7 separate regions of the Homo sapiens genome follow, and all the other regions are linked to region 1. The links are contacts of gene promoters, found by promoter capture Hi-C in blood cells and fetal thymus (Javierre and others, 2016). All regions are on one chromosome and are shown on one strand. The core of a region is centred on a gene start or on the middle of the fragment in contact, and the rest is flanking DNA. Distances in the headings are between cores, read along the strand shown. Region 1 holds the start of DNAJC2 (DnaJ heat shock protein family (Hsp40) member C2). Region 2 overlaps SRPK2 (SRSF protein kinase 2). Region 3 overlaps KMT2E (lysine methyltransferase 2E (inactive)). Region 4 overlaps KMT2E (lysine methyltransferase 2E (inactive)). Region 5 overlaps KMT2E (lysine methyltransferase 2E (inactive)). Region 6 overlaps KMT2E (lysine methyltransferase 2E (inactive)). Region 7 overlaps LINC01004 (long intergenic non-protein coding RNA 1004).

Evidence for each region. The method cuts DNA at HindIII sites, captures the fragments that hold promoters and counts their contacts. A CHiCAGO score of 5 or more calls a contact.
Region 2: a contact is called between a fragment that was not itself captured here and the fragment with the promoter of DNAJC2 in region 1, in 1 of 17 cell types (total CD4 T cells). The highest score is 5.5, in total CD4 T cells.
Region 3: a contact is called between a fragment that was not itself captured here and the fragment with the promoter of DNAJC2 in region 1, in 1 of 17 cell types (naive CD8 T cells). The highest score is 5.4, in naive CD8 T cells.
Region 4: a fragment that was not itself captured here is called in contact with the fragment with the promoter of DNAJC2 in region 1 in 5 of 17 cell types (total CD4 T cells, M1 macrophages, naive B cells and 2 more); the score reaches 7.3 in total CD4 T cells.
Region 5: a fragment that was not itself captured here is called in contact with the fragment with the promoter of DNAJC2 in region 1 in 1 of 17 cell types (activated CD4 T cells); the score reaches 5.3 in activated CD4 T cells.
Region 6: a contact is called between a fragment that was not itself captured here and the fragment with the promoter of DNAJC2 in region 1, in 6 of 17 cell types (M1 macrophages, activated CD4 T cells, total CD8 T cells and 3 more). The highest score is 8.5, in M1 macrophages.
Region 7: a fragment that was not itself captured here is called in contact with the fragment with the promoter of DNAJC2 in region 1 in 4 of 17 cell types (activated CD4 T cells, erythroblasts, M1 macrophages and 1 more); the score reaches 6.9 in activated CD4 T cells.

Annotation. Positions count from the first base shown.
Region 1 is chr7:103,343,092-103,346,941 of GRCh38, reverse strand. It overlaps DNAJC2 (DnaJ heat shock protein family (Hsp40) member C2), which reads left to right and starts at 2,175. Exons shown (of 17, transcript NM_014377.3): 1 at 2,175-2,383. The coding sequence starts at 2,320. It also overlaps a transcript of PMPCB not described here. RefSeq lists an enhancer at 1,993-2,232. The HindIII fragment of the contact is 5,590 bases long and covers 1-2,760 here.
Region 2 is chr7:105,114,824-105,118,673 of GRCh38, reverse strand. It overlaps SRPK2 (SRSF protein kinase 2), which reads left to right. Exons shown (of 16, transcript NM_182692.3): 16 at 652-2,300. The coding sequence ends at 836. KMT2E (lysine methyltransferase 2E (inactive)) reads right to left here. Exons shown (of 27, transcript NM_182931.3): 27 at 3,655-3,850. Among named protein-coding and RNA genes, the nearest start is that of KMT2E, 100 kb to the right of the region's middle. The HindIII fragment of the contact is 3,178 bases long and covers 405-3,582 here.
Region 3 is chr7:105,095,185-105,099,034 of GRCh38, reverse strand. The region is part of intron 15 of KMT2E (lysine methyltransferase 2E (inactive)); the gene reads right to left. Among named protein-coding and RNA genes, the nearest start is that of KMT2E, 83 kb to the right of the region's middle. The HindIII fragment of the contact is 1,161 bases long and covers 1,109-2,269 here.
Region 4 is chr7:105,077,836-105,081,685 of GRCh38, reverse strand. KMT2E (lysine methyltransferase 2E (inactive)) reads right to left here. Exons shown (of 27, transcript NM_182931.3): 12 at 2,723-2,840. Among named protein-coding and RNA genes, the nearest start is that of KMT2E, 66 kb to the right of the region's middle. The HindIII fragment of the contact is 1,371 bases long and covers 1,349-2,719 here.
Region 5 is chr7:105,059,275-105,063,124 of GRCh38, reverse strand. KMT2E (lysine methyltransferase 2E (inactive)) reads right to left here. Exons shown (of 27, transcript NM_182931.3): 4 at 847-961. Among named protein-coding and RNA genes, the nearest start is that of KMT2E, 47 kb to the right of the region's middle. The HindIII fragment of the contact is 6,535 bases long and covers 1-3,850 here.
Region 6 is chr7:105,018,149-105,021,998 of GRCh38, reverse strand. All of the region lies in intron 1 of KMT2E (lysine methyltransferase 2E (inactive)), which reads right to left. Among named protein-coding and RNA genes, the nearest start is that of KMT2E, 5.9 kb to the right of the region's middle. The HindIII fragment of the contact is 1,322 bases long and covers 1,238-2,559 here.
Region 7 is chr7:104,986,187-104,990,036 of GRCh38, reverse strand. It overlaps LINC01004 (long intergenic non-protein coding RNA 1004), which reads left to right. Exons shown (of 1, transcript NR_039981.2): 1 at 1-3,850. Among named protein-coding and RNA genes, the nearest start is that of LINC01004, 3.1 kb to the left of the region's middle. RefSeq lists enhancers at 2,030-2,529, 2,530-3,031. The HindIII fragment of the contact is 1,343 bases long and covers 1,549-2,891 here.

The DNA of each region.
Region 1 (3,850 bases), core at 926-3,425:
TAGTCATGATACCCATAAGGTGGAAGCAACCCAAGTGTCCATCTACATATGAATGGATAAACAAAATGTGATACACGCATGCGCGCTCACACACACACACACACACACACACACACACACACATTATTCAGCCTTAAAAAGGAATGAAATTCTAGTATAAGCTACAACACAGATGAACCTTGAAGACATTATGCTAAGTGAATAAGTCAGTCACAAAAAAGACAAATACTATATGATTCCACAAATATGAAGTACCTAGAGGTGTCAAATTCCTAAAGACAAAGTAGAAGGATGGTTTCCAGTGGACAGTTTTTTCCACTGGCATAGTTTCAGTTTTGTAAGAGATTAAATGGGTATAGAGTTTCAGTTTTGTAAGATAAAAATAGTTTTGTAGGGTGGTTACACAATAATGTGAATGTACTTAACATTACTGTAAACTTAAAAACGGTGAAGATCGTAAATTTCATGTTATGTGTGTTTTAGCACAATTTTTTTAAAAAACAAAACCCCCGACCGGGCACCGTGGCTCACCCCTGTAATTCCAGCACTTTGGGAGGCTGAAGCAGGCAGATCATGAGGTCAGGAGTTGGAGACCAGCCTGGCCAACATGGCTAAACCCCGTCTCTACTACAAATACAGAAATTAGCTGGGCGTGGTGGCACGCACCTGTAATCCCAGCTACTCGGGAGGCTGAGGCAGGAGAATCGCTTGAACCTGGGAGGCAGAGATTGCAGTGAGCCGAAATCAGGCCACTGCACTCCAGCCTGGGCGACAGAGCAAGCCTCTGTCTCAGAAAAGAAAACAACAAAAAAACAAAAACCCATGTTAGAGTTAATGGTAAAATTGAATGGGAGGAGGTGTGAGGAAAAAAATATATTAATATGAAGAAAGTGGAGTCAGGTTACTTTGCACCTTGGAGCATGTTTTAACAGTGGTTGCATTAGTAGGGATCAGGAAGAGGTTTTGGGGCAGAAGATTAGTTCAATTTTTTTTTTTTTAAAGACGGGGTCTCACTGTTACCCAGGCTGGAGCGCAATGGTGTGATCTCAGCTCACTGCAACCTCCACCTCCCGGCCTCAACGATCTTCCCACCTCAGCCTCCCTTAGTTCAATTTTTGAAAAGTCAGTTTTGAAGTGACAATTTTATCATGCAGCAGATATACAGACCAATTAAATGTATTTAATTGGCCTGGCACAGTGACTCACGCCTCTAATCCCAGAGTTTTGGGAGACTGAGGCAGGAGGATCCCTTGAGGCCAGGAGTTCAAGACCACCTTGGGCAACATAGTGAGACCCTGTCTCTACAAAAAAAAATATACATATATATATATATAATATATTTAAAAACTTTAATTGTGAAAATATAATGAAATTAGTAAGTTATTTTCTAATTTACTAATTTCTGGTGGTCCTTGCTAAAGAGTGGCATATCAAGTTTATTTTATTGAACCTGTTTCAGATACTGCTGTTGGGGGTGAGCCTTTACCCACTGTTTGTTTTTGCTAGTTTTTGCTTTTGACTGCAGTCTTAGAAGGAAGCATATAGTAGGAATACAATTGATTTTATTATACATTAAAAAATTAAGTCCCAGAGTCCTATAATTGGGAATATCTTGAATAAAAACTTCATTAGAACAAGGTAAAAATATTGCTGGCCTTGGAATACAATCTAACACACTAGAGAGAGGTTTCTTCTCCAAGCGAGTATTAAAAGATATAATGCAGGTAAATTAGTAATAGCACGACAAATATTAGCTGCTATTATCATCATCAAGTTAAACACAAATGTATCACAAATACACGTACGTAATTCTCCGCAAATGTATATACTAGTCGTCGATACTGGTTCATACAGGTATTTTCATTTTTTACTTAAAAGTATAGCGCTCCTGGGAAAATCACTGATTAGGTTCAGATTAATACATAAAGCAGTAAGAACTTAAAGATAATATAAAAAGAACTGCTTTTAAAGGTTATGTTCTATGTATTGCACTGGGACGTGGAATATAATCCTTTTTACAGGAAAACTGATGCGCCTAGGAACCATTCTCTCGTGCGACTTGGTCTCCAGCCGGATCTCAGTCAGTATAGAACTAGGTTACCGCACACGTTGGCGGGGGTGGGAGGGTGTGAGACTGGCCTCCACACCACGAAAGATCCATCCCGGAAGTGCTTACTGGTCGTCTCCATGCGCCGGTTCCTGGGCGTCTTAGAGCCAAGGCGCGAGGCTCGGAGTGAGAGGTAGAGCTGGAGGGGACCCTAAGCGCCCTCCGCCCGGGACGTGAGCCGCTGCGCCCACCGGGCTAGACCCGGCGCCATCATGCTGCTTCTGCCAAGCGCCGCGGACGGCCGGGGCACCGCCATCACCCACGCTCTGACCTCTGGTAAGTGCCCACCCAACCTCGGTTCCTTCTCACCTCAGCTGCCCCTGCCTCAGTCCTCCGCCTCGGCAACCCTGGGCTCTCTCTACCCTTGACCCTGGCGACTAGCCCCGGGGCCGTATGGGGCCGTGACGAGTGCCTTTTTGCTCCGTGTTTTAAAGTAATCCTACCCTAGATTAGAAGGAAGGAGGGTGAGGGGTGCCTTCCTTTTGCTCCTACCGTTGCTTCCTCCTCTCGCCGCTGCTGACTCATGGATTGGGCTGAGCATTTCGGGACGGAACCCCCCAGCACCCCAGAAAGGTTCTCATAAGCATCTCCTTGCCTACGGTGGAAAGACTACGCGCAGCGAGCACCCCACGTGCCTGGGGTCGTACAAAGCTTTGCTACTGGCGCTCTCTTAAACAACTTTCTCCCTCTCTACGTTTGCTCCGGCCTTGTTTTTTAAATGTCACAACTCAGACACCGCTCCTCATACTCGGTGTTCAAAGACTGTGCTGCTGAAAAGATCCGCGTAGACTTTGAAAGGCAGTTATTACAAGTGAAACTTGTCCTGCTGCTGTAGGTTTTAGTTTTATGGCCCAGGACAGTCATGAGTATTGTAAACTTAAGAGTCTTCAGGTCCAGTGATCTACAGTAATTCCCATAGCCAGTCACATAGGCGCTTGTTGAATGTGATTTTGAACATAACCCATGGCACGTGTTGCATTTATGTGTCTCCGTGTGCCTCTTACAACTAGAGCAAAAGGCTTAAAAGGCAGTGTTCTTAAAAGCCACACACCCATACTACACAGGTAGTACCTTTTTGACAGTGTTTTAATCCTCTCCTGTGTAAGGTGGAGGAAATCTTAAAATAAGTTGTTCAGGGATTTTCCTTTTTTGAATTGCTAGTATACACATGTACAGTGATTTACCCCCACTTCCCAGGAATAGATGATACCTTTACTACAAGTTTGTAATTTCAGAGAGTTTCTGTGGTCTCATTCAAGCTTCCTAGGAACTGAATGAGATAAATAGGTATTGTTCCCATTTTACAGGTGAAGACATCCTGATTCATTTCAGGTCACATAGCCACTGTCAGACCTAGTCTAAAACCCAGAGTGTCTGGTTTCAGATTGAGAGCTTGTTCCACTACAGCTTAGCTGCATTAGTAAATTCCCATTTGCTGCTTGGAAAATTGCTTTCAGGACAAATTCTTGTTAGTGAATTCTTAAAATTTTTAAGAGCTATATTCAAGATTTTAATAATTAAGACAGTTTGAGTTGTCTGGGTGCGGTGGCTCACGTCTATAATCCCAGCACTTTGGGAGGCCGAGGCAGGTGGATCACCTGAGGTCAGCAGTTCGAGACCAGCCTGGCTAACAGGGTGAAACCCTGTCTCTACTAAAAATACAAAAAAGTAGCTGGGCGTGGTGGCGGGCGCCTATAATCCCAGCAACTTGGGAGGCTGAGGCAGAAGAATCGTTTGAACCCG
Region 2 (3,850 bases), core at 744-3,243, 1.8 Mb before region 1:
ACGGCTAGGATTGCAGGAGTGAGCCACTGCCCTCAGCCCTTTATTGCAGTTTTGACTTAAAAATAACCTTTTTTTTCTCTTATGAAATGACCATTACAGCTCGTAGGCCATTTACTAGCTTGTTAGTCATTCTGTTATGTCAACCAAAGCTGCCTGTAACCGACACTTTTCATACTGCAGCTAGCACAGTTTGTGAAGTATAACTTCAAGGTTTACAAATTAATGTCCTAGGATCTTAGATCTTACAACAAATGCGTAGACATGAATGGTGTTTGATTTGGGTTGGCCTCAAGTTTGCAAATTTTACGGAAGATCCCAGGTTGAAATGAGAGTGGCTTGCTTCAACCTTTGGAAAAGAAAACACTCTGGGCAAACTGAGCCCACTCCACTTACTTAAAGAAGCTTAGAACTAATGTGAATGAACTATTAATTAACCTCTATTTAGATCCACCAGGCTTACTTGAAATATGCCTTGGTCATATGTACATGTAATGATTATTGCTTAGTGGGGAAAAGCTGGTGTTCTTTGTTGTTGCTGTACAAGTGTTGAGCAGGTGGTTGTCCGCTTCACTGAAAAGAACCTGACTGGACCAACAATGGGGAATGCAGATTTGGAGCTTTCTTGACATTGGCCTGTTTTTTCCCCTGTAGGAGAACTGCGACACATCACCAAGCTGAAGCCCTGGAGCCTCTTTGATGTACTTGTGGAAAAGTATGGCTGGCCCCATGAAGATGCTGCACAGTTTACAGATTTCCTGATCCCGATGTTAGAAATGGTTCCAGAAAAACGAGCCTCAGCTGGCGAATGCCTTCGGCATCCTTGGTTGAATTCTTAGCAAATTCTACCAATATTGCATTCTGAGCTAGCAAATGTTCCCAGTACATTGGACCTAAACGGTGACTCTCATTCTTTAACAGGATTACAAGTGAGCTGGCTTCATCCTCAGACCTTTATTTTGCTTTGAGGTACTGTTGTTTGACATTTTGCTTTTTGTGCACTGTGATCCTGGGGAAGGGTAGTCTTTTGTCTTCAGCTAAGTAGTTTACTGACCATTTTCTTCTGGAAACAATAACATGTCTCTAAGCATTGTTTCTTGTGTTGTGTGACATTCAAATGTCATTTTTTTGAATGAAAAATACTTTCCCCTTTGTGTTTTGGCAGGTTTTGTAACTATTTATGAAGAAATATTTTAGCTGAGTACTATATAATTTACAATCTTAAGAAATTATCAAGTTGGAACCAAGAAATAGCAAGGAAATGTACAATTTTATCTTCTGGCAAAGGGACATCATTCCTGTATTATAGTGTATGTAAATGCACCCTGTAAATGTTACTTTCCATTAAATATGGGAGGGGGACTCAAATTTCAGAAAAGCTACCAAGTCTTGAGTGCTTTGTAGCCTATGTTGCATGTAGCGGACTTTAACTGCTCCAAGGAGTTGTGCAAACTTTTCATTCCATAACAGTCTTTTCACATTGGATTTTAAACAAAGTGGCTCTGGGTTATAAGATGTCATTCTCTATATGGCACTTTAAAGGAAGAAAAGATATGTTTCTCATTCTAAAATATGCATTATAATTTAGCAGTCCCATTTGTGATTTTGCATATTTTTAAAAGTACTTTTAAAGAAGAGCAATTTCCCTTTAAAAATGTGATGGCTCAGTACCATGTCATGTTGCCTCCTCTGGGCGCTGTAAGTTAAGCTCTACATAGATTAAATTGGAGAAACGTGTTAATTGTGTGGAATGAAAAAATACATATATTTTTGGAAAAGCATGATCATGCTTGTCTAGAACACAAGGTATGGTATATACAATTTGCAGTGCAGTGGGCAGAATACTTCTCACAGCTCAAAGATAACAGTGATCACATTCATTCCATAGGTAGCTTTACGTGTGGCTACAACAAATTTTACTAGCTTTTTCATTGTCTTTCCATGAAACGAAGTTGAGAAAATGATTTTCCCTTTGCAGGTTGCACACAGTTTTGTTTATGCATTTCCTTAAAATTAATTGTAGACTCCAGGATACAAACCATAGTAGGCAATACAATTTTAGAATGTAATATATAGAGGTATATTTAGCCTCTTTTAGAAGTCAGTGGATTGAATGTCTTTTTATTTTAAATTTTACATTCATTAAGGTGCCTCGTTTTTGACTTTGTCCATTAACATTTATCCATATGCCTTTGCAATAACTAGATTGTGAAAAGCTAACAAGTGTTGTAACAATAATCCATTGTTTGAGGTGCTTGCAGTTGTCTTAAAAATTAAAGTGTTTTGGTTTTTTTTTTTCCAGACATTGCCTTGGTCATTGCCCTATAAATGATAGAATCAATGAACATTTGCTATCAGAGTAGTGTCACTAAAACTAAATACCAGCATTCCTGTTGCAGCAGATGTAGTTGTAGAACATGCATTGAGGCGTATTATAAGGAAATCATTTATTGTTTTTTAAGGGCAGAAGGGATTTAGGAGAAAAGCTACAGTATAGATTGATTCTCTAGAATATCAATGATCCCTTTTCATCCATGGTTCATCAAAAACATACTAACTGCATTTGTTTGATCATTGCAAATTTAAAACAAAACAGCATTTGCTGTTAGGAAACAAGACACATAATCCTCTTAGGAATTACCATTATATCACATTACCACTGTGAGGTAGAATGGATCATTCATTAATTTCTTTATGAAATTTGCATGCTAAGTTTTTCTAATGAGGCTGTAGGTTTCCATGTAAATTCTGTGATAGATAGTGGCTGTAGACTGGTGATGCTATCCGTGATTTCTATGAGAAACATCCTTACAAGAACCATAGGGCATAATTTATATCTTCCCTAAGTGTAAAAGGATTTTTATCAGGGTGATAGTATACTTGAATGAAATTTGTCTAATGCAGTTTTTGCTTATGTTGGAAAATAAACTAGATTATGAATTTTTACAGGTGTGTCCCTTATGATAAAACAGCCTAACTAGTTTATAATACAGAAACGGTTGTTCTAGAAGGAATATACATTTGTATTAGGCATAATATGGCTTTATCAGATTCTTGGCGGCTTGTTGATAAAGAATGCACAAAAACTAAATGAGAACCACTGGTTATGCTAAACATTATAACTAGCTCTCTGACTTCAATTGAATGTCCTATCTATCTTTTCCTTTCTGTAGTCCATGTGAAATCTTCATGGAAAATGACAAGCAGTGGATCACATATGTGTTTATAGCAGATACAGGAGCTGGCTATCTAGAAGTTGGCAGACAGAACTGCCCAAAGGCAGAGAAAAGGTGGATATAAGATCTTCCGAGTCATAAACTTCTTAGGTGAAAACCGATTTACTAACTTGCTTCTTCCCATACCTGGACCATACATAACTAGTTACCACGATAAAGTAAGGAAACTTTCCATTGGAGTAGAGAACTTCTTCAGTTTCTATCCATAGTTCAGGTTATTTCCTAAATTCTCCTTTTTTCTCCCCCTTTTAAATAACTTGAATGAAATTTTGGTAGAAGACTGTATTTTAGAGTATATACTTCATCAAGGAATCAAAATGTATAAGATTCTGCAGTTCACACAAAAGCTTCTGTATGCATATTTCTGTAGTAGGCACATTTCAAGCCAGTGAAGAATTTAAAATGCTTAGAAGGACAAACCTTTTAAGAAGAATATTTTTATTTCACATGCTAGTTACCTTTATTCTGTTTGAAACTATCAGGATAGATGATGTAAAACCATTTCTTCTCAGACAAATGTTTCTTTACTAAATACCATAAATAGAATTTTGTTGGACAAATTGAGGATGGCAAACTTGGCCTATATGTTCTTCTAAAATTTGAAGCTGTGATTAGGA
Region 3 (3,850 bases), core at 440-2,939, 1.8 Mb before region 1:
TGGTACCTATTTAAAGACAAAATTTGCCTCCCATTTTATAGCTCTAACTGAAAAATAAGTTTTATTCTTTGAGGTAGTTAGAGCTGACTCTGGAGATAGAGAAATTAGGATTCCTAATTAACCCCTGCAGACTTTCCATAGCCCCTAACACCTGTGCTATATAATCTAAACTCGATAGATTTCCCATGAAATCTATACATTGTTTTTATGACATATGTCTTAGTTTATGGTTTTCCAAGAGTAAATACCAAGCATTGTAATTTCCTATAAGCAGTCTGCTTAATAATATCCCCATCACAAAGCAAGACTCCCATCTCCACAAAAAAATTTAGGCTGGGCGCAGTGGTTTATTATGCCTGTAATCCCAGCACTTTGGGAGGCCGAGGAGGGTGGATCATGAGGTCAAGAGATCAAGACCATCCTGGCCAACATGGTGAAACCCTGTCTTTACTAAAAAAACAAAAATTAGCCAGGTGTGGCACGCGCCTGTAGTCCCAGCTACTCAGGAGGTTGAGGCAGGAGAATCACTTAAACCAGGGAGGTGGAGGTTGCAGTAAGCTGAGATTGCGCCACTGCACTCCAGCCAGGTGACAAAGCAAGACTCTGTCTCAGGAAACAAACAAAAAAATTAGTGGAACATGGTAGCATGCACCTGTAGTTCTGGCTACTCCAGACACTGAGGCAGGAGGATTGCTTGAGTCCAGGAGTTGGAGGCTGCAGTAAGCTATTGGTCATACCACTGCACTCCAGTTTGGGCAACAGAGCGAGGCCCTGTCTTTATCTAAAAAAAAAAAAAAAAATAGGAAAAGGAAAGCCAGAGCCCACCTACAAAATCACCCTATTCTTCTTTGGTCTTGAAATAGAGAAATTAAATGATTCCTTGCTCAAAAAAACTTGTTACCCTTTTATATAACAAAGATAAACTTATAAATCTAAAAAGATGGGTAAGATTATTTGTTACTAATAAAAATCATTCCAAAATAACACGTATGGCTTGTGTGGTGTCTCCATTTCCTCTATCATGTGATGATGGAATTTATACTCATGGCACTCTTTATTATTTTGATACTCGTTTGTTATTTCCTCTACCCCATTCTCTACGAAAGCTTTTCCAGAGCAGTGACCTTTCCTTCTTTGCTCATCCGATATCTCAAATGGCAAGCACTCACATTGTTTTTAAATGAGTAAGAACCATGTGTACATTATGTCAAGCACGTATCACGTTACTTAAAGACATGTAACTAACTGGAAGCATTTCAACAATTTTGGAAATCTTGAATTTATTAGAAGGCAGTTAAAGCTGATTAACCTCATTTTGTTTGAACTGAGTACCTAATAAAAATAGGTGGCTGGGCACAGTGGCTCACGCGTGTAATCCCAGCACTTTGGGAGGCAGAGGTGGGTGGATCATCACAAGGTCAGGAGTTCAAGACCAGCCTGGCCAACATGGTGAAACCCCATCTCTACTAAAGATACAAAAAATTAGCCAGGCGTGGTGGTGGGCACCTGTAATCCCAGCTACTTGGGAGGCTGAGGCAGGAGAATCACTTGAACCCGGGAGGCAGAGGTTGCGGTGAGCCAAGATTGTGCCACTGCACTCCAGGCCTGGCAACGGAGTGTGACTCCGTCTCAAAAAAAATGAAAAAAATAATAAACAGGTTCCCTTTCACTAACACCACAATGTCATTAATTACTTATCTTTAGAAATAAAATTCCCAGTCTCTACAATTAGAGAAAACAGGACCTTACAAAAAAAATCAGCATCAACGGAGGACAGAACAGGGAGTTGGATAACATCTCAAATCCTGTCACCAGATGACTTTTCTGGCAACAAACTTATCCTATTTTATTATTAAAGCATTGCATATTCTAAAGTGATTTTCTAAATGAAGTCAGTCAAGTTTTCCTAGAGACATTTAGTAACAGCATGGATTCTGCAGTGTTTTCCCACAGAGTCTGTTCCACTGAATAACACTCTGTGGGGGTCAAAGGTGTTATCCACAAGAAACTGCAAGGGTATACAAGTTTAGGAAAATCTGACAATTGTGTCAAGTTTTTAAACACATGTACACTGGTAATCTGAAAAGGAAGAATATAGTATAGTGCTCATCACAGTAAACTGGTCACGGCTCTTTTTCACAAAGCATCTCAAATTATACTTGCGTGGAATACTTGATGTGAAGGATGAAAGCCGAGAAAATTGTGGGGAATCCTGCACAATTCAGGGCAAGGCCTCCAGATCATCCATTACCTGAACTACAGGGAAGCTTCATTCAGTTCACATTCATGGGCCTGTATCTGTCTGTCTATCTTTCCTCAAGTGGTTGTTATAAACATTCAGTTAGCTCATTTATTGATGGTCTACTTTTTTGCCCACCATTTTTTATTCCCCTAGGAGCTAGGGCTACAACAATGAATAAAACTGAAAGTTTTTTCCCTCATGAAGTTTATGTTGTGGTGGTATAAAAATTCCAGACTAGACTATAATACCTGCTTGACAAGTCCAGGAATCTCTTGCCTACGTGACTTCCTTGTCATACCCTTTCACCGTTTCTCAAATGTCCGTCCTTTTAAATATGAAGACCACACTGAATCATCTTCTGTGGACTCAATTTTAAGCAATCTGATAATATAGGCCATCAAATATTACCAAGATTGTATTCCCAAAGTACATTATGAGGGTTATGAAAAATTATTTTGGAAATATTTTAAAACTACAAAGGAGACAGTTTTCATGCCATTATAAATGGGGGAGGAAGTGTCTTTTTTTTTTTTTTTTTTTTTTTTGAGCCTTTCACTGTCACCCAGGCTGGAGTGCAGTGATGCCATCTTGGCTCACTGCAGCCTCCTCTTCTGGGTTCAAGTGGTTCTCATGCCTCAGCCTCCCAAGTAGCTGGGATTATAGGCATGTGCCACCATGCCTGGCTAATTTTTGTATTTTTAGTAGAGATGGAGTTTTGCCATGTCACCCAGTCTGGTCTCGAACTCGTGGACTCAAGTGATCCACCCACCTTGGCCTCCCAAAGTGCTGGGGTTGCAGGCGTGAGCCACCAAGCCCAGCAACAAGTCTCTTTTAGTATTTAAATCTTTCAGAAGTTTGCTGCTTTTAAAATGATCACTTTAAGCTACAGGTATACCCCCCAGTATCTAATCCCCTTCCACATGTACTGTTTATATGAGAAGATTACAGCCATCTAGCCCCACCTCCACAAATATACTAGGAGGACACTCAGTAGTGCCCTGGTTTTTGGAATCTAGTGAGTATAAACAGTCTACTGTATTTCAGTCTACTGGGCTTATGGTAAGATTTTCCTAACGTACAATAACCATGCAGTTCCACATAACTTAGCCACAAATTTGCTTTTGTAAAAGCAGGTAACGACTTCTTAAGGATAAAAAAGACAAAATATCATGGATGGAAAAAGAAAATGTTCATAAAAGAAAAATCCAAAAGGCCAAAAGGGGTAGAGGTAATGGAACTGGAAATGAAAAGGCCTTCCATCTTGGCCACATAAATATTCTTTCATGAAATCTTCATCCCTGAGTATTTTGTGTGACCTATAGCCAACTTTATCTCCCTAGTAGCCCTCTCCTCCTCCAAAAACAGCCTATAATCCCAACCAAATATATTTACAGCTCTCTCCAAGATTTCCCCCTGGAAAAATACATTCCATGAAACTTTGTCATAAGCTAACCTGTATTTGGTTAAACCCTACTCAAAAGGTCCATCATAAATATAAATACAAAAATATATTAAATATACATAAATATAAACATGTATTACCTAGAGTTCATGAGACAATCTGATCTCTCTCCAGCTATAAGCTATGTATCATATTTATATTTCCTT
Region 4 (3,850 bases), core at 785-3,284, 1.7 Mb before region 1:
AAAAGTTAAAATAATTGTACATTACCATAAATTACTTTCTGCCTTCAGAAGCATCAGCTTACAATTTTGAAAATTATTCTTTTCAAATTATTTCACAAACACAACCTGGAAAATATGTCATTAATGACAAGGCTTATAACTATCTATTGGTGGTTATCAACTGGGAAGGTTTTTCAATCATATACTGCTATCCACTGCCACCCCAACCCCTAGAGCCCACAATGTGGCATCAAAATAATAATAATAATAATAATAATAATAAAAATACTATATTTCATCAATTCTTCTTATTTTTATTTTTTTGAGACGAGTCTCACACTTTCGCCCAGGCTGGAGTGCAGTGGTGCGATCTCGGCTCACTGCAAGCTCCGCCTCCCAGGTTCACGCCATTCTCCTGCCTCAGCCTCCCGAGTAGCTGGAACTACAGGCACCTGCCACCATGCCCGGCTTATTTTTTTTTGTATTTTTAGTAGAGACGAGTTTTCACAGTGTTAGCCAGGATGGTCTCAATCTCCTGACCTCATGATGTGCCGGCCTCGGCCTCCCCAAGTGCTGGGATTACAGGCGTGAGCCACCGCACCCAGCCTCATCAATTCTTTTTTTTCACCTTTTAGCATCTCTGAAATCAGGAGTCTTATAACTGGTGGCATCTTAGGGTTTTTTGTTGTTGCTGTTGTTGTTTTGAGACAGAGTCTCACTCTGCCATCCAGGCTGGAGTGCAATGATGCAATCTTGGCTCACTGCAACCCCAACCTCTCAGATTCAAGTGATTCTCCTGTCTCAGCCTCCCAAGTAGCTGGGACTACAGGTGCGTGCCACCACACCTGGCTAATTTTTAGTAGGGATGGGGTTTCACCATGTTGGTCAGGCTGGTCTTGAACTCCTGACCTCAGGTGATCCACCCACTTTGGCCTCCCAAAGTGCTGGGATTACAGGTGTGAGCCACTGTGCCTGGCCTTCTTAGGTTTGATGAGTGCAATAATGGTTGAGCAAACGCTACTTTTCTATGACAAGACACTATTCTATATACTTTATATGTATTAACTCCTTCAGTCTTCATATCACCTTTTTACAGATAAAACTGAGGTTAAAAAGCTAGTAAGTCACAGAGAAGAAATAAATTTAAGTCTGGTTCCAAAATCTGTACTCTTAGCTGGGTGCAGCAGCGCATGCCTATAATCCCAGCTACTCTGGCGGCTGAAGCAGAACAAACACTTGAGCCCAGGAGTTCCAGGCCAGCCTGGGCAACATGGCAAGATCCTGTCTTTTAAAAAAAGAAAAGAGAGGAAAAAAAAAAAACACCTACATTCTTGGCTGCAACATTATATAATTACAAAACTAAAAAGCTTCATTTTGACATGTAAAAAACAAAACCAACACGATTTTCTACTCCACACTAAAATATAACATTATTAAAAATTTTACAGTAGAACATACAAAATCTACTTTAGATTTTAGCTTTGTCATCTAACTTAAATCATCGCATGTATTGAGCCATAAATAGAGCTTCCAAGATAGAAGGAAAGTCGTCCAGTATTAGGCTGGACCTGGTGGCTCATGCCTGTAATCCTAGCATTTAGGGAGGCCGAGGCAGGAGGATTGCTTGAACACAGGAGCTCCAGACCAGTCTGGACAACATAGGGAGAACCCAACTCTACAAAAAATTAAAGAATCATTAGTTGGGCATGGTGGCACGCACCTGTGGTCCCAGCTACTCAGAAGTCTGAGGTGAGAAGATAACTTTACCTCCTAAAGGCCCAGGAAGTTGAGGCTCCAGTGAGCCATGATTGCACCTCTGCACTCCAGCCTAGGCAAGACCCTGCCTCAAAAATAATAATAATAATAATAATAATAATGATTTAAAAAGTCCGGGCAGGCTCATGCCTGTAATCCCAGCCCTTTGGGAGGCTAAGGCAGAAGGATCACTTGGCCCAGGAGTTGGAGACCAGCCTGGGCAGCAAAATGAGACTCCATCTCTGCAAAAATTTAAAAAATTAGCTGGGCATGGTTGCACACGCCTGCAGTCCCACCTACTCAGAAAGCTGAGACAGGAGGATCACTTGAGCATGAGAGGTCACGGAGGCTGTAGTGAGCTGTGCTCATGACACCACACTCCAGCCTGGGAGACAGTGAGACACTGCCTCAAAAAAAAAAAAAAAAAAAAAAAAAAAAAAGGAAGTCCAATATTTCCTCTTATAAGGAGCATCATCATTTCTTCAAGGTGCAAAGTAATTTTTAAGACTTCATAGCGGCCAGGCATGGTGGCTTACACTCGTAATCCCAGCATTTTGGGAGGCTGAGATGGGCAAATCACCTGAGGTCCGGAGTTCGAGACCAGCCTGGTCAAAATGGTGAAACCCCGTCCCTACTAAAAATGCAAAAAAATAGCCGGGCATGGTGGTGCGTGCCTGTAATCCCACCTATTCGGGAGGCTGAGGCATGAGAATCACTTGAGCCCGGAAGACGGAGGTTACATGAGCTGAGATCGTGCCATTGTATTCCAGCCTGGGCAACAAGAGTGAAACTCCGTCTCAAAAAAAAAAAAAAAAGACTTCATAGCCAGTTATCACATAAATTTTCACAAAAAAACAGGCTGGGCAGTATAAAATGCACCAACAGGTGGAAAGTGTCTTAGGTCAGTGACCTGAGTTTTGTGCTTATTGCTCAGATTCCAACACACCCCCAGCACCCACATCTCCCCAAAAAATTTCTATAAGCTTACCTCTGCATTGGGTGTACAAGACCGCCTGATGAATCGAGCCTCATTCCCAAAAGTCCTTGCATCAACACACATTTCTAGCCCATGAAATTTAGAGTAGAATAACACAAAAGGGTATGGTCTACAAAGAAAGAAACATTATAAGCTATTAACATTTTAGGCCGGGCATGCTGGTTCACACCTGTAATTCCAGCACTTTGGGAGGCCGAGGCAGGTGGATTGCTTGAGTCCAGGAGATCAAGACCAACCTGGGCAACATGGCGACACTCCGTATTTACAAAAAAAAAAAAAAAAAAAAAAAAAAAAAAAGGCCAGGCATGGTAGCATGTGCCTGTAGTCCCAGCTACCTGGGAAGCTGAGGTGGGAGGATCACCTGAGCCCAGGACATCAAGGCTGCAGTGAGCCATGATCATGCCTCACTGATAGAGCGAGACTGTCTCAAAAACAAACAAACAAACAAAAGTCAACATTTTAGGACAATAATCTGTTACTCTTCAGAGGCAAAGTGATGAAGAAACTTAAGAACACAGAGTCTAAGAAACTTCTAAAAGACATAGTGAAGCCAAGATTTGAATATAGGCAGTCTGACTCCACAATTCACTCTTATCTTATGCTAGTTTATGCTAATGAGATTTTTACCTGCCCCATAACCTCACCTAAATCAAAGGCAATTAATGGAAGGTAGAAATTCCAATTTACAAAGAAAGATAAAAAGAGAGTGACTACTGCATTCACAAGATTAATTTGATGTCTTTAGAGTTCACATTTCCTGGTGCATTTAAAAGTATCTGTCTTATACCGTTTCAGATCAAATCTGCTACATAATAGGGAGAAATTGCTGTGTATCTTTCATATCTTAAGTAAATATTCAAGTTATAAACAATAAATGTTTTTGATAATTGTAGGACACAGACTAGGAATGTTCTCCTACAGATATGAACATACTTCTAGACTACAGGGAAGCAACGCCTATCAAAGGGTCATATTAATTCTGCATACAAATCTCAAACCAAAGAAGAGACCTCCAATACCATTCCAATACCAACAAAGTGGGTGTTGAAAGTGGTGGCAATAATGTAGGACCCAATCTAACACTGTCTAATAAAGAGGAAGGGGTTTCTCCTATGGTTA
Region 5 (3,850 bases), core at 298-2,797, 1.7 Mb before region 1:
CCAAATTTCATTCCCTCCCTACCAAATCATATCTTCACGTTCCTATGGTCACATACATAGCTCCACCTCCAAGATGAAAGAAGGTATTAAGATGTGAGAATAGAAGTGTTAAAAAAAAAAAAAAGAAAAAGAAAAACACACATCTCAGAAATATGGAGCCTAAAGAATAATAAAACAAGACATATTTATCACTATAAAACATATAATATAGTTTTTTAAATTTAGTAATTTTTATTCTGGTCCAAGTAGTAAGTATCTCATAATTCTACCTCCATAGTATCATAAATGTGTTGTTATGTAATTACGTTTGAATCTAAATGCTGCCTCTTACTAGATATGCAATATTTAATAAGTTAGATAGGCTTTTATTTTCTCACCTATGAAATAAAAGATGAAAACTACATCTCATGAAGTTGTTTTTAATGATTAAATAATATATGTCTGACACATAACAAGGGCTCAATAAATGGTAACTATAAAATTTACTATATAAATTACTATATAATTCAAAAACTAAAAATCAAAAAATTAAAACAAAATTAATTACTATATAATTCAAAATTAATAGTAGGTAGTACAATACAACCTTATCTGCATTCTTTTAGGAAGTAAAGAAATATAATATCAAACTATTAACAGCATAAATTGCAAAATAATAAGAGAAACAGTTCACTTTTATAGAACTTTAATCGCTTAATGGTTAATGAAAAATTAAACGCCTAATTATTTTGATAGTATGAAACAACCATGCTTTTCAAACATGCCGTTTCAAGCACAGTATCACATGCATCTACTTTCAATCTCTAAATTTAAAAATGTTTTTTCAAAGAAGTGTTTAACACTTACCGCATAGGGCAAACCAATGTAACTGTGTGAATGATGTGAGCTGCTGGTATATAACTGGTGGGGATAACTGTTGGATTTCTCAACTACCACAGGGCTAGCTTCTACGGATTCTGGTCTGGGGGGAAAAAGTTGCATCAAAGAGAATTCCATTCTTTTTTTTTCCTCTTAATCAATTTAATTAAAATGATAAAGTACTTACAGCAAAATAATGGCTATACAAATACAGTATCTACTTACAGCAGGTGGATACACTATAGATAAGATATATCCCATCTAGATTATGTGTCATAAGCAAACTTCTGTTTAAGTAAAATAAATGTCCCAATCCAATTTCAAATATAGTTTCCCTCTCTCTCATTAAAAAAAATTACTAGAGTCCAATTATTATTTAATAAACCCTACGGCACTGAGAAAACTAGCAAAGGGGTGCAAAGAAGTAGTAGAAATAATTTAAGCAAGACTAAAACACACAGAATCTATATGGACCTCAAATGGAACTGAAGTATGCATTTCAGTGTTCAAAAATATATGCATGTGTTGAGTGTGACCAGATATTAATATAATAAAGCCTTGGAAATGTCAGTAAACTTAAGTAATAGGAAGTTTCAAAATAAACCAGGATTTATACCTGAAAAAAAACATAAACAGCTATCTGTAAGATGAGCAATTCTGGTCTTAGATGATGGAGACTGATCAACTACTGATACAATTTGCCCACTGTTGTTGACTTACAAGCTCCCTGGCCTAGCATTTTACATACATCACTTTCCCAACTTCTTTACTCTTACCAATCCTCCTGAGCTCTACTTGGTTAATTCCTATTGATCAACAAGGTTGTGAACCTACATCTGAGGTCAGTTCACACTAAAATTAATCTCTCCCTTGCAAATACTCAATAACATGATTTGTTTCTGTGCCTTTATTTTACAAAACTATAACATCACTTGAAAAATTTTTCATGACAATCTTTATCCTACCTCCTATTAAAACTTTACATTAGAACTTAGTACTATTTGCACTATTATTTAGTTTAAGGATATTTAGTGGTTATATTCTGATTAGTCATGAGACTAGCAGCATAAAAAACATTTTTTACAGTCAACTGCTTCTTAATATACTGTCATCCCTTCACGAAGTCTCAATTTAGCTCTCAGTGGCTGCTGTTGTAAGCGCTGTGTGCCAGAATCAGCAAAAAGAGGAGATACAAACTGAGGTTATCTAATGGTTCTAAAGGAGATTGTGAAGAGTCTCCATTATGTTCTGAATATAGTCATGCTTTGCTTAACATTGGAGATACATTCTGAGAAATACATCATTAGGTGATTTCACCGTTGTGTGAACATGATAGAGTGTACTTTACACAAACCTAGATGGTATAGCCTACTATACACCTAGGCTAAATGGCATAACTATTGCTCCTAGGCTACAAATCTATACAGCATGTTATGCGCTGAATATCGTAGGTAACACAATGCACTGAATATTGTAGGTAACACAATGCTAAGTATTCTGTATCTAAACACATCTAAACATAGAAAATAAGGGCTGGGTGTGGTGGCTCATGCCTATGATCTCAACACTTTGGGAGTCTGAGACAGGAGGGTCACTTGAAGCCTGGAGTTCAGGAGTAGCTTGGGTAAGATAGCAAGACTTTCTCTACAGACATTAAAAATAAAAAAAAAAAACTAGCCAAGCGTGTTGGCACACGTCTGTAGTCCTAGCTACTTGGGAGGTTGAGGTGGGAGAGCTGTTTGGGCCTAGAAGTTTGAGGTTACAGTGAGCTATGATCATGTCACTGCACTCTAGCCTGGGCAACAGAATGAGACTCTGTCTCTAAAAAGAGAAAAAAACATGTACAGTAAAAAAACAATAAAAAAGATAAAAAATGGTACACGTGTAGACGGCACCTCCAATATAATCTTATGGGACCACCATTGTATTATGTGGTCTGGTGTTGACTGAAACGTTGTTATGTGTGCATGACTGTACTTTGAAAACCAATATTCACCTGTAATCCCAGCACTTTGGGAGGCAGAGGCGGGTGGATCACAAGGTCAGGAGTTCAAGACCAGCCTGGCCAAGATGGTGAAAACCCATCTCTACTAAAAATACAATAAGTAGGCAGGGGTGATGGCAGGCACCTGTAATCCCAGCTACTTGGGGGCTGAGGCAGGAGAATCACTTGAACCCAGGTGGCAGAGGTTGCAGTGAGCCGAGACTGCGCTACTGCACTCCAGCCTGGGCGACAGAGTTAAGACTCTGTCTCCAAAAAAAAAAAAAAAAAAAAAAAAAAAAAAAAACAACAACAAGAAAATCAATATTCAGCTAATGTCTATGCTGTTACATTAAGAATTATTCATTATTTTAAAAGAAATGTTTCTTAATTTCAAAATTAATACATGCTGATTGTAGAAAATCTAAATATAGCAGTAATAAGAAAATGTAAGACTATGTCTCCACCCAACTCCCAAACATTCTCATGTTAATATTGCCATGTATCTTTCTCTAAACTTTTCTATGCATCATTATATCTACACAATTTTTGCTTTTTAAAATCCGAAAATATATGTATTCATGATTTACTTTTTCCATCTTTAAATGTCAACATATATACTTTATTCTTGGTAATAATTGCTTATTTCATTATATGAATATAAATTTATTTAACAATTTCCCCTACGGGTAAATATTGACATTATTTCTATTTGTCACTATTAAAAGTACTACTGCAAATGTACATCCATTTATCTTTTCTGCATAAATGGTAGTATTTCTATAACATGAGTTCCTGTAGCTACTATTGCTGAACAAAAGGGTAAATGTACATAAAACTGATACTACCAAACTGCCTTTGATTACAACAGTGACACTTTTTAAATTCTTTAAAAATTACACAGAAGGAAGAAGTGAAGTTTTAGCAACGATTTACAGTACTATTATTAAAGCAACATGCAGGAACTGTGGCCAGAGCACAAAGATTCACTCTTAAAAATTTAGATCAAAC
Region 6 (3,850 bases), core at 649-3,148, 1.7 Mb before region 1:
AAAGCAAACAGCAAAATGTCACAAGTCCGGTGATCTTGGTACACAGTATAAGAGAGTTATTTGTACTATTCAAGTAAATTTTCAGTAAATTTTACATTATTTTTAAGTTAAAACCAAAAATATCTTGGTTTTTTAGCATTCCTCATCATGTGTGTGTGGCAATTTTTTAATTAAAAATTGAATCATCAGTGTGATATATCAATTATTTAGTTTTGGAAGCCCTCCCAAGTACCTTTGAACATTCCTGGAAAAAGGTAATTGTTTTCAGGAGAATTAAACGTGTCTTTCTCTTGCTTTACTCTGAGAAACGCCACTCTACAAACCATGAACACCCACCCCACCACCATCTCTCTAACTAGTCTCAGATAATTAGAGGGGATCAAGATGGTGAATAGTGGCTCTTTGACACCTTGCCAATTCCTGTGAGGCCCATCTGTACTTTCTTCAAATAAATTATGTGAGATTTCCCTATAGCCTTATAACAAATCCTTTATTTAAGCTAGCTAGAGCTGATTTCTGTTCCTTGCATCCAAAAAACTCTAAAACAGCAGGCTTTTAAGAAGGTGAAATAAACTACGGGTTCTCTCAAAGCAGGGACAGTCTCATCTCTCTCTGCATCTGTGGTGCCAGGAAAATAATAGCTACTCAAATTCATCTTTTGTCTGTGCTTCAAAAATATTGTTACAGCGAAGGCTTAATGATGTAAGATGTAATAAGCCTGTGTCAAGGCAACCAATTAAGCAACTTCATTTAAAGAGAAGAAGCAGAGACTTATTTTCTGGGTAAGAGTTACTATGTATCAGACCAACCTGAGACCCCTATTTATGGCTACTGGACCACAGTCCTAACCATTCAAATTAGTCACATCATGAATCTTCCCATCTCAGCCACTTCATTAAAGAGGAAATGGGGTTTTCAAATTCCTGAACGCTGTCTTTCTTTAAATGTTACATAAAGCAAGATGGTAAGAGGAACTGGAGATATCTCTCTGTAAACTCAAAAATAGAAACGATTACATATATTAGTCTCTGAAATAAGAAAACAAAAATATTAGAAGAGTGTATGTTTCTCATACACATTCTCTGAAAGACCCAAACTATGTTTCCCTGACAATATCCTAAGTGGTAATGGTTAATTCTTTTCTTTTCACCATATTCCTCACTTTTTACTAAAAACCACTGACACTAGGCTTCATCTTAGGCCAAACGGTAAGGAAAAGATATTTAATCTTTAAGCTTATTTAACTCAAATAAGTTTAAAATAATTTATAAGTGTAAATTTTTAAGACTTTAAATGGAAATTATTTTAAATACCCTATGAAAACAAAAGTCAACATAAATGAAAAAATTTAAACATTTTTGGTCTCAGATAAAACATGAGACAGCATAATTACATAAACTTTATTTATTTTTTTAGAGATGCAGTTTCGCTCGTTGCCCAGGCTGAAGTGCACTGGCACGATCTCAGCTCACTGCAACCTCCGCCTCCCAGGTCCAAGCAATTCTCCTGCCTCAGCCTCCCAAGTAGCTGGGATTACAGGCACCCGCCACCAAGCCCAGCTAATTTTTGTAGCAGAGATGGGGTTTCACCATGTTGGCCAGGCTGGTCTTGAACTCCTGAGCTCAGGTGATCCACCTGCCTCAGCCTCCCAAAGTGCTGGGATTACAAGCGTGAGCCACCATGCCAGGCCAAGTGAACTTTAAAGTTGTAAGTACCACAAACCAAAACTAACTCAATCCACTATCGTATGCTAGACAGGCATGACCTTAAATGCTGCAACCAAGTTGGCTATTACACAGGTGTGATTACACAATATCATCTTTCTCAATATTAAAATTCAGGACCAAGAATTTTTTTTTTTAATTTACTTATTTACTTTTTTTTTTTTTTTGAGACAGAGTCTCACTCTATCGCCCAGGCTGAAGTACAGTGGCACAATCTCGGCTCACTGCAACCTCCGCCTCCTGGGTTCAAGCAATTCTCCTGCCTCGCCCTCCTGAGTAGGTAGGATTGCAGGCACCTGCCACCACGCCCGGCTAATTTTTGTAATTTTTAGTAGAAATGGGGTTTCACCATGTTGGCCAGACTGGTCTCAAACTCCTGACCTCAAATGATCCGCCTGCCTCGGCCTCCCAAAGTAGTGAAATTACAGGTATGAGCCACCGTGCCCAGCCTATTTTTAATAATTAATATCTGATATGTCCTAGTCTTCTGAAGGAATGTTTCTTCCTTTGGATTAACTCTAAATTAAGCAGCCTAAGAGGTGCTAAGAAATTACCTCTGTCCAATTGTCGTAAAAATAAAGCTACATAGATCATTGCTTATCACGTTGACCTGCATGCAGATCCTTTCTAAACCCAGATTTCATATTTGAAACAGTTTTGAAATACAAAATATTTTAATTAAAAATGATGAACAAGTAGTTTACACATATTATAGGTTAATTATTTACTCATTAAAAGACGTAGTGTCTGTTTTGATGGCATCTTAATGCAACACATCAAAAAAGAATTCTTTGTTGACCTGTTGCATTGAAAATGTCCAACATCCCAAAAAGCTTAAATAGTTTTGGTAAATAACCAAACGAGATTTCCAATAAAACTGTAAAATTCACCTAACAATAAAAAAAGTTTTTCTGTCCAAAAATAAAATCCAATTATGAGCTGTTCATGAGGGAAAAAAAGAACTGATTTCATATCAAGTGAAAACATGTTATCTCGTGAAATATAAGACCAACTGCTTTTCCTGACTCTGATTTAAGTAAAAAGCATCCTAGTTACCAATGGTTAATAAAAACTTCTTTTATCCTTAAAGATATGAATTAAAATCTAATTAACTTACTCTGGGTCACCTTCATTTGATTTTTAATGTAGCACTTAGCATGGAAGTTCACAATAACAAAAAAACAATTTGTTTGCATCATAATATGGTTAATTCTTATCTCTTGCAATTGCTATTAAAAATATTGCAATTGCTATTAAACAGAGTATTTTATATAAAGTAAAATACTCATTTTATATTATACAAAGTAAAATACTGTTTATTTTATATAATGCAAAATACTCATTGTTTAATAGCAATTGCAAGATTTTTAGTTAAATACCATCCACTTCCAGTTTAGTGTAGAAAACAATTTCAACAACAAATACTGTTCCTCCATGTTAAGTAAATTTGTAGGTAATACAAAAAATTATTCTTTCAATGTCAAGAAAAAAATAAGGCTCCTCCCAACATCTGCACATTACAGAACAGGTAGTAAATACGAGCCACTTCAATTTTAAACCCAGCCTAAAAGCCAGTAACATTCACAGAGTAATATTTCAAATAGTATTCCACTCGTTAATTTGCCAGTCAACATAAAAATTAATTTTACCATAAAATAATTATATTTTCAATATTAAAAAGTCTCATAGATAATCTATCATGAAATTGGGGGAAACAAGTCTCACAGAATACAAGTATTTAACATTTATTCTAACACATAACAGGGAACAGTCCCTGATCACCCTACATATTTGAGATGTAAATGTGTTTGCTTCAATAAAAGATTCACATCCAAGAAATAATTAAGCACCTACCATCTGCTAAAAACAAATCCTTTGGAGATAAAAGCTTTTACACATTATTAAAATATTTTTAAAATAGTAAACATAAAATAGCATCTGTTGAGAAAACTGCATACTAGTATTTCCTAACCAGTTTTGATAGCTCTTCAAAGTTCTGTTAGTTTTACACATTTTAAACACACTATGGTTGTACACATTTAAGTCCCAGTAGTAGTAGCTTCCAGAAATGCAGAGCTGTTAGGGTTTACATAAAACACACCTTTAAAAATTAAACCACAGGTTTC
Region 7 (3,850 bases), core at 971-3,470, 1.6 Mb before region 1:
AACCAGAGTAGCCTATGATCATTCCCTGTGGGATTCTTTAACTGTTAAGGCAAAAGAAAATGCAGTTGCACTTAAGAGTATATGGATAAAATAAAGAACTGTGAAGTGAAAAGGGGAGAGATTTTTTTAAAGATGACTATATTTTAACTCCTCCTGACTAGTAAATTCAAGGATACCAGGAAAGATGAGGTGTAGACTTTAAACCTTCCAACATTCCATTGTGTTAATCATTCTTCCTCATCAAAGAGGCAGTAAGGGATAATTTAGAGTGACTACAGTTACAAATAATGTGCTGTATAAGCACCCAAGAGCAGAGATAAGGATGGAATTAAGGGTGTTAAAGAAAATATGGCCTCTCTTCTTTACCATTTGATTGTTTTTGCTGTCCCTGGAGACTCATATCTCTCTCTATTCCTAGGACCAAAGTTTACACAACTGCCAAATATATAAACAAGAACACCCCTTAAAATTCCTGTGAAACATTGTACATCTTAAGAGAGCAGATGTGTCTATGGGCTGTCACAAATATCAGTCTTGCTATGTTAAGCATAAACTTAACAAATATTAGTGGAGACACACTATTTAGGATTCGCCTAAAACCCTCTAAGATAGAGGTCCCCAATCCCGGCCCCTGATCGGCCGCACCTGCAGGAGGTGAGTGATGGGCCAGTGAACATCATAGCTGAGCTCAGCCTCCTGTCAGATCAGTGGCCGCATTAGATTCTCATAGGTGTGAGAACCCAATTGTGAAGTGCACGTGTGAGGGATCTAGGTTGTGCTCTCCTTATGAGAATCTAACTAATGCCTGATAATCTGAGGTGGAAGAGTTTCATGCCAAAACCATCCCCTTGCCCTGTCCATTGAAAAATTGTCCTCCACAAAACGGGTCCCTGGTGCCAAAAAGGTTGGGAACCACTGCTCTAAGGTGTCCAGTGTTGGCTGACCCCTCTCCCTACTTATGCACCCATTGGCTTGCCTAACAGCTGATTGATTTCTGTTTAAATAGACACAGTATATTGGGGCAGTTTATTGCATCTTTGGTCATCTCTTTTCCTCTGGGTCCCTAGGACGGAAGACAATATCCTAAGTTGATTCTGTCTAACAAAACATGAGTAAAATGAGGAATTGGTTAGGTAGGTGGCAAACAGCAAAGATTATATGGACTTGTAGCTTGCTCCATAAGTAGACTTTAACCAAGTAAGCTATTTGAAAAACAATCTTAATTTTTTTCAAGTGTTATTTTTAATTCTATAGGAATATTTTCATAAAAATAATGATGTCCATTATGTTAGCAACTAGAATTACAATGGCAAGTTTTAGGAGATGCTTGAAATGTGAGATGTTACATTTAAAACTATAAAGTTATCGACCTAAGTATATGATTGTACCCATGTGGCAGTAAACTTAAAACTTCCAGTTTCAGGTTTTGTTGTTTGTTTGTTTGTTTGTTTTAAAGAGTTGTTAATGGGGGAAAGGAAAGGAATATGTGAGGGAGATTGGCTTGCAAAGCCTAAAATATTTCTTATGTGGCCCTATATAGAAAAAGCTTGTGTATTCTGGACAAGAGCAATTAAAGGAAATAGTTTGGACTTAAAACTTCTAAAAATAAATAGTGCTCAAATTGCACTTGGAAGTCAGAGACCTTGCTGGTCATCAAAGGGTTCAGTTCAGTCAGTAGTTAGAAAAGACAGAAGCCAGCTTAGCCAAGAGTCAGAATACAAATATTCAGAACCGATTAATAGGCAAATAATTATATATACCATGTCCCAGCCAGTAGATGGAATAATATGCCACCATTAAATTTATATTAACATGTAAAAATGTTTGGAGTTTAGGGCTCTTTACCCATATCTTAGTGACATAGGAAGAAAATTAAGATAAATCACAAGCAACTAGAAAATAGACATGTTAACTTTATTTTAGTACATACTCTGGTAGGATTTTTACATAATCTTACGTACTAGTCAGCCTTCTTAGAAGTGTCACATAGTCAATATCCTTAAAGAGAAATGGAAGCTAATCAGGTAAGTAAATTGTGAGCTGAGGCCTACATCATGCTTGCTATTCAAAGAGAATAAAGTAATTGGATAAATGATAATGCCTCCTTGTTGGGAAAACAGTCTTCAAAAATGGCACTAAGTTACAGTTCTAATGCAATAGAGTCACTAATTACTATGAATACTTGTTTTACTTGGCAGATTACTAACAAAGTTAATTGGATACAATAAATGTAAAGATTTTCTTTTAAAACGACAGATTCTTCAGTGAGGTGTAAACATTTTATAGAACAATTATCAAAGCTATATTGGACTTAAATATTGGTCATGAATGTATGCACACCCCATAGGTAGCTGCCCTCCTTGGGCAGCTTTTGACTCCTATGCCAAATTTTAAAATAAAGGCCGTGGCCAGGCGTGGTGGCTCATGCCTGTAATCCCAACACTTCAGGAGTCCAAAGCGGGCGGATCGCGAGGTCAGGAGATCGAGACCGTCCTGGCTAACACGGTGAAACCCTGTCTCTACTAAAAATACAAAAAAAAAAAATTAGCCGGGCGTGGTTGCAGGCGCCTGTAGTTCCAGCTCCTTTGGGAGGCTGAGGCAGGAGAAGGATCTGAACCCGGGAGGCAGACCTTGCAGTGAGCCAAGATCGCGCCACTGCACTCCAGCCTGGGCAAGAGCGAGACTCCATCTCAAAAAAATAAAATAAAGGCCATATGTTTAATCACATTCCCCAAAAGGAGAACTTCATAAGGCACTAATGAGTAATGTTTATTTTACGAATGATTTTACGGGAAAAATTACAGAGGATGTTTAAATTGCAAAAATACTCCTCCCCTTTTTTCTCCTCCACCGCCCCCCAAAAAAAATCCTTTGCAGTTATCACCTAAGCTTTTTGGGTGTGTGATTTAAAAAAAAAAAAAAAAAACCACAAGACCTACCTTAACAATTTAAGTATGCAGTATTGTTTCTTCTCAGCTGCCCAGTCTTTGTAATTCTTATTTCTTATGCAGAACAATTTAGCATTTGACCCTACTATCACCAAAAAAAAAAAAAAAAGAAAAAAATATATAGCAGTTGAGGGCAGTATACAAGCTTAGTAAGTATATTCTGGTACTTGCTTAGGAAGTAGGAAATGTGATCAGATTCTGTTCTCTACCATATGACACTGATTTGCAAGGCCCCGGGTACAGGACTACTGGTAAAAAGAACCCTGTAACTTCCTGTCACAGAGGGACACAGCAATATATATAAAACAGCATCTGCCGTAAATCTTTGGGGAACGTCTTACTAGATTTAACCAGCTAATTTTACTAGGTATTTAGGAAAGTGTGACTGCAGTTCAGGGTCTTTGTTTTTTCTTTTAAGACAGGGTCTGGCTTTGTTGCTCAGGCTGGAGTGCAGTGGCATGATCAAGGCTCATTGCAGCCTCAGCATCCCTGGGCTGCAGCGATTCTTCCACCTCGGCCACCCAAAACTGGGATTATGGGTGTGAGCCACCACACCTGGCCTCTTATATCTTGATTAAGGTCCTGTCTGGGCCTACAAAGGTTCAATTTGCTTAACCCCAGCACTTTCCCTCAACATGGAGGTCCTTAGTCAACATTAACCAAGGTAATAAAGAGTTGAAAGTTTTAATCATAAGTAGGTGGAGGAGCATTTAAACTGGTTTAATAAACTTGAAATATGAATACCTTAAATATTCGAATAACAAAGCACTGGTGAAACAGGTTTTTCTATGGAAAGACCACAATTTTCTATCCAGCACATTTCATTTGACTGGGTTCCTTTGTTTCTGTAATAAATAGGACTTTGAGAATTCCAAATCAAATTTGCACTTTTGCACAAAAGG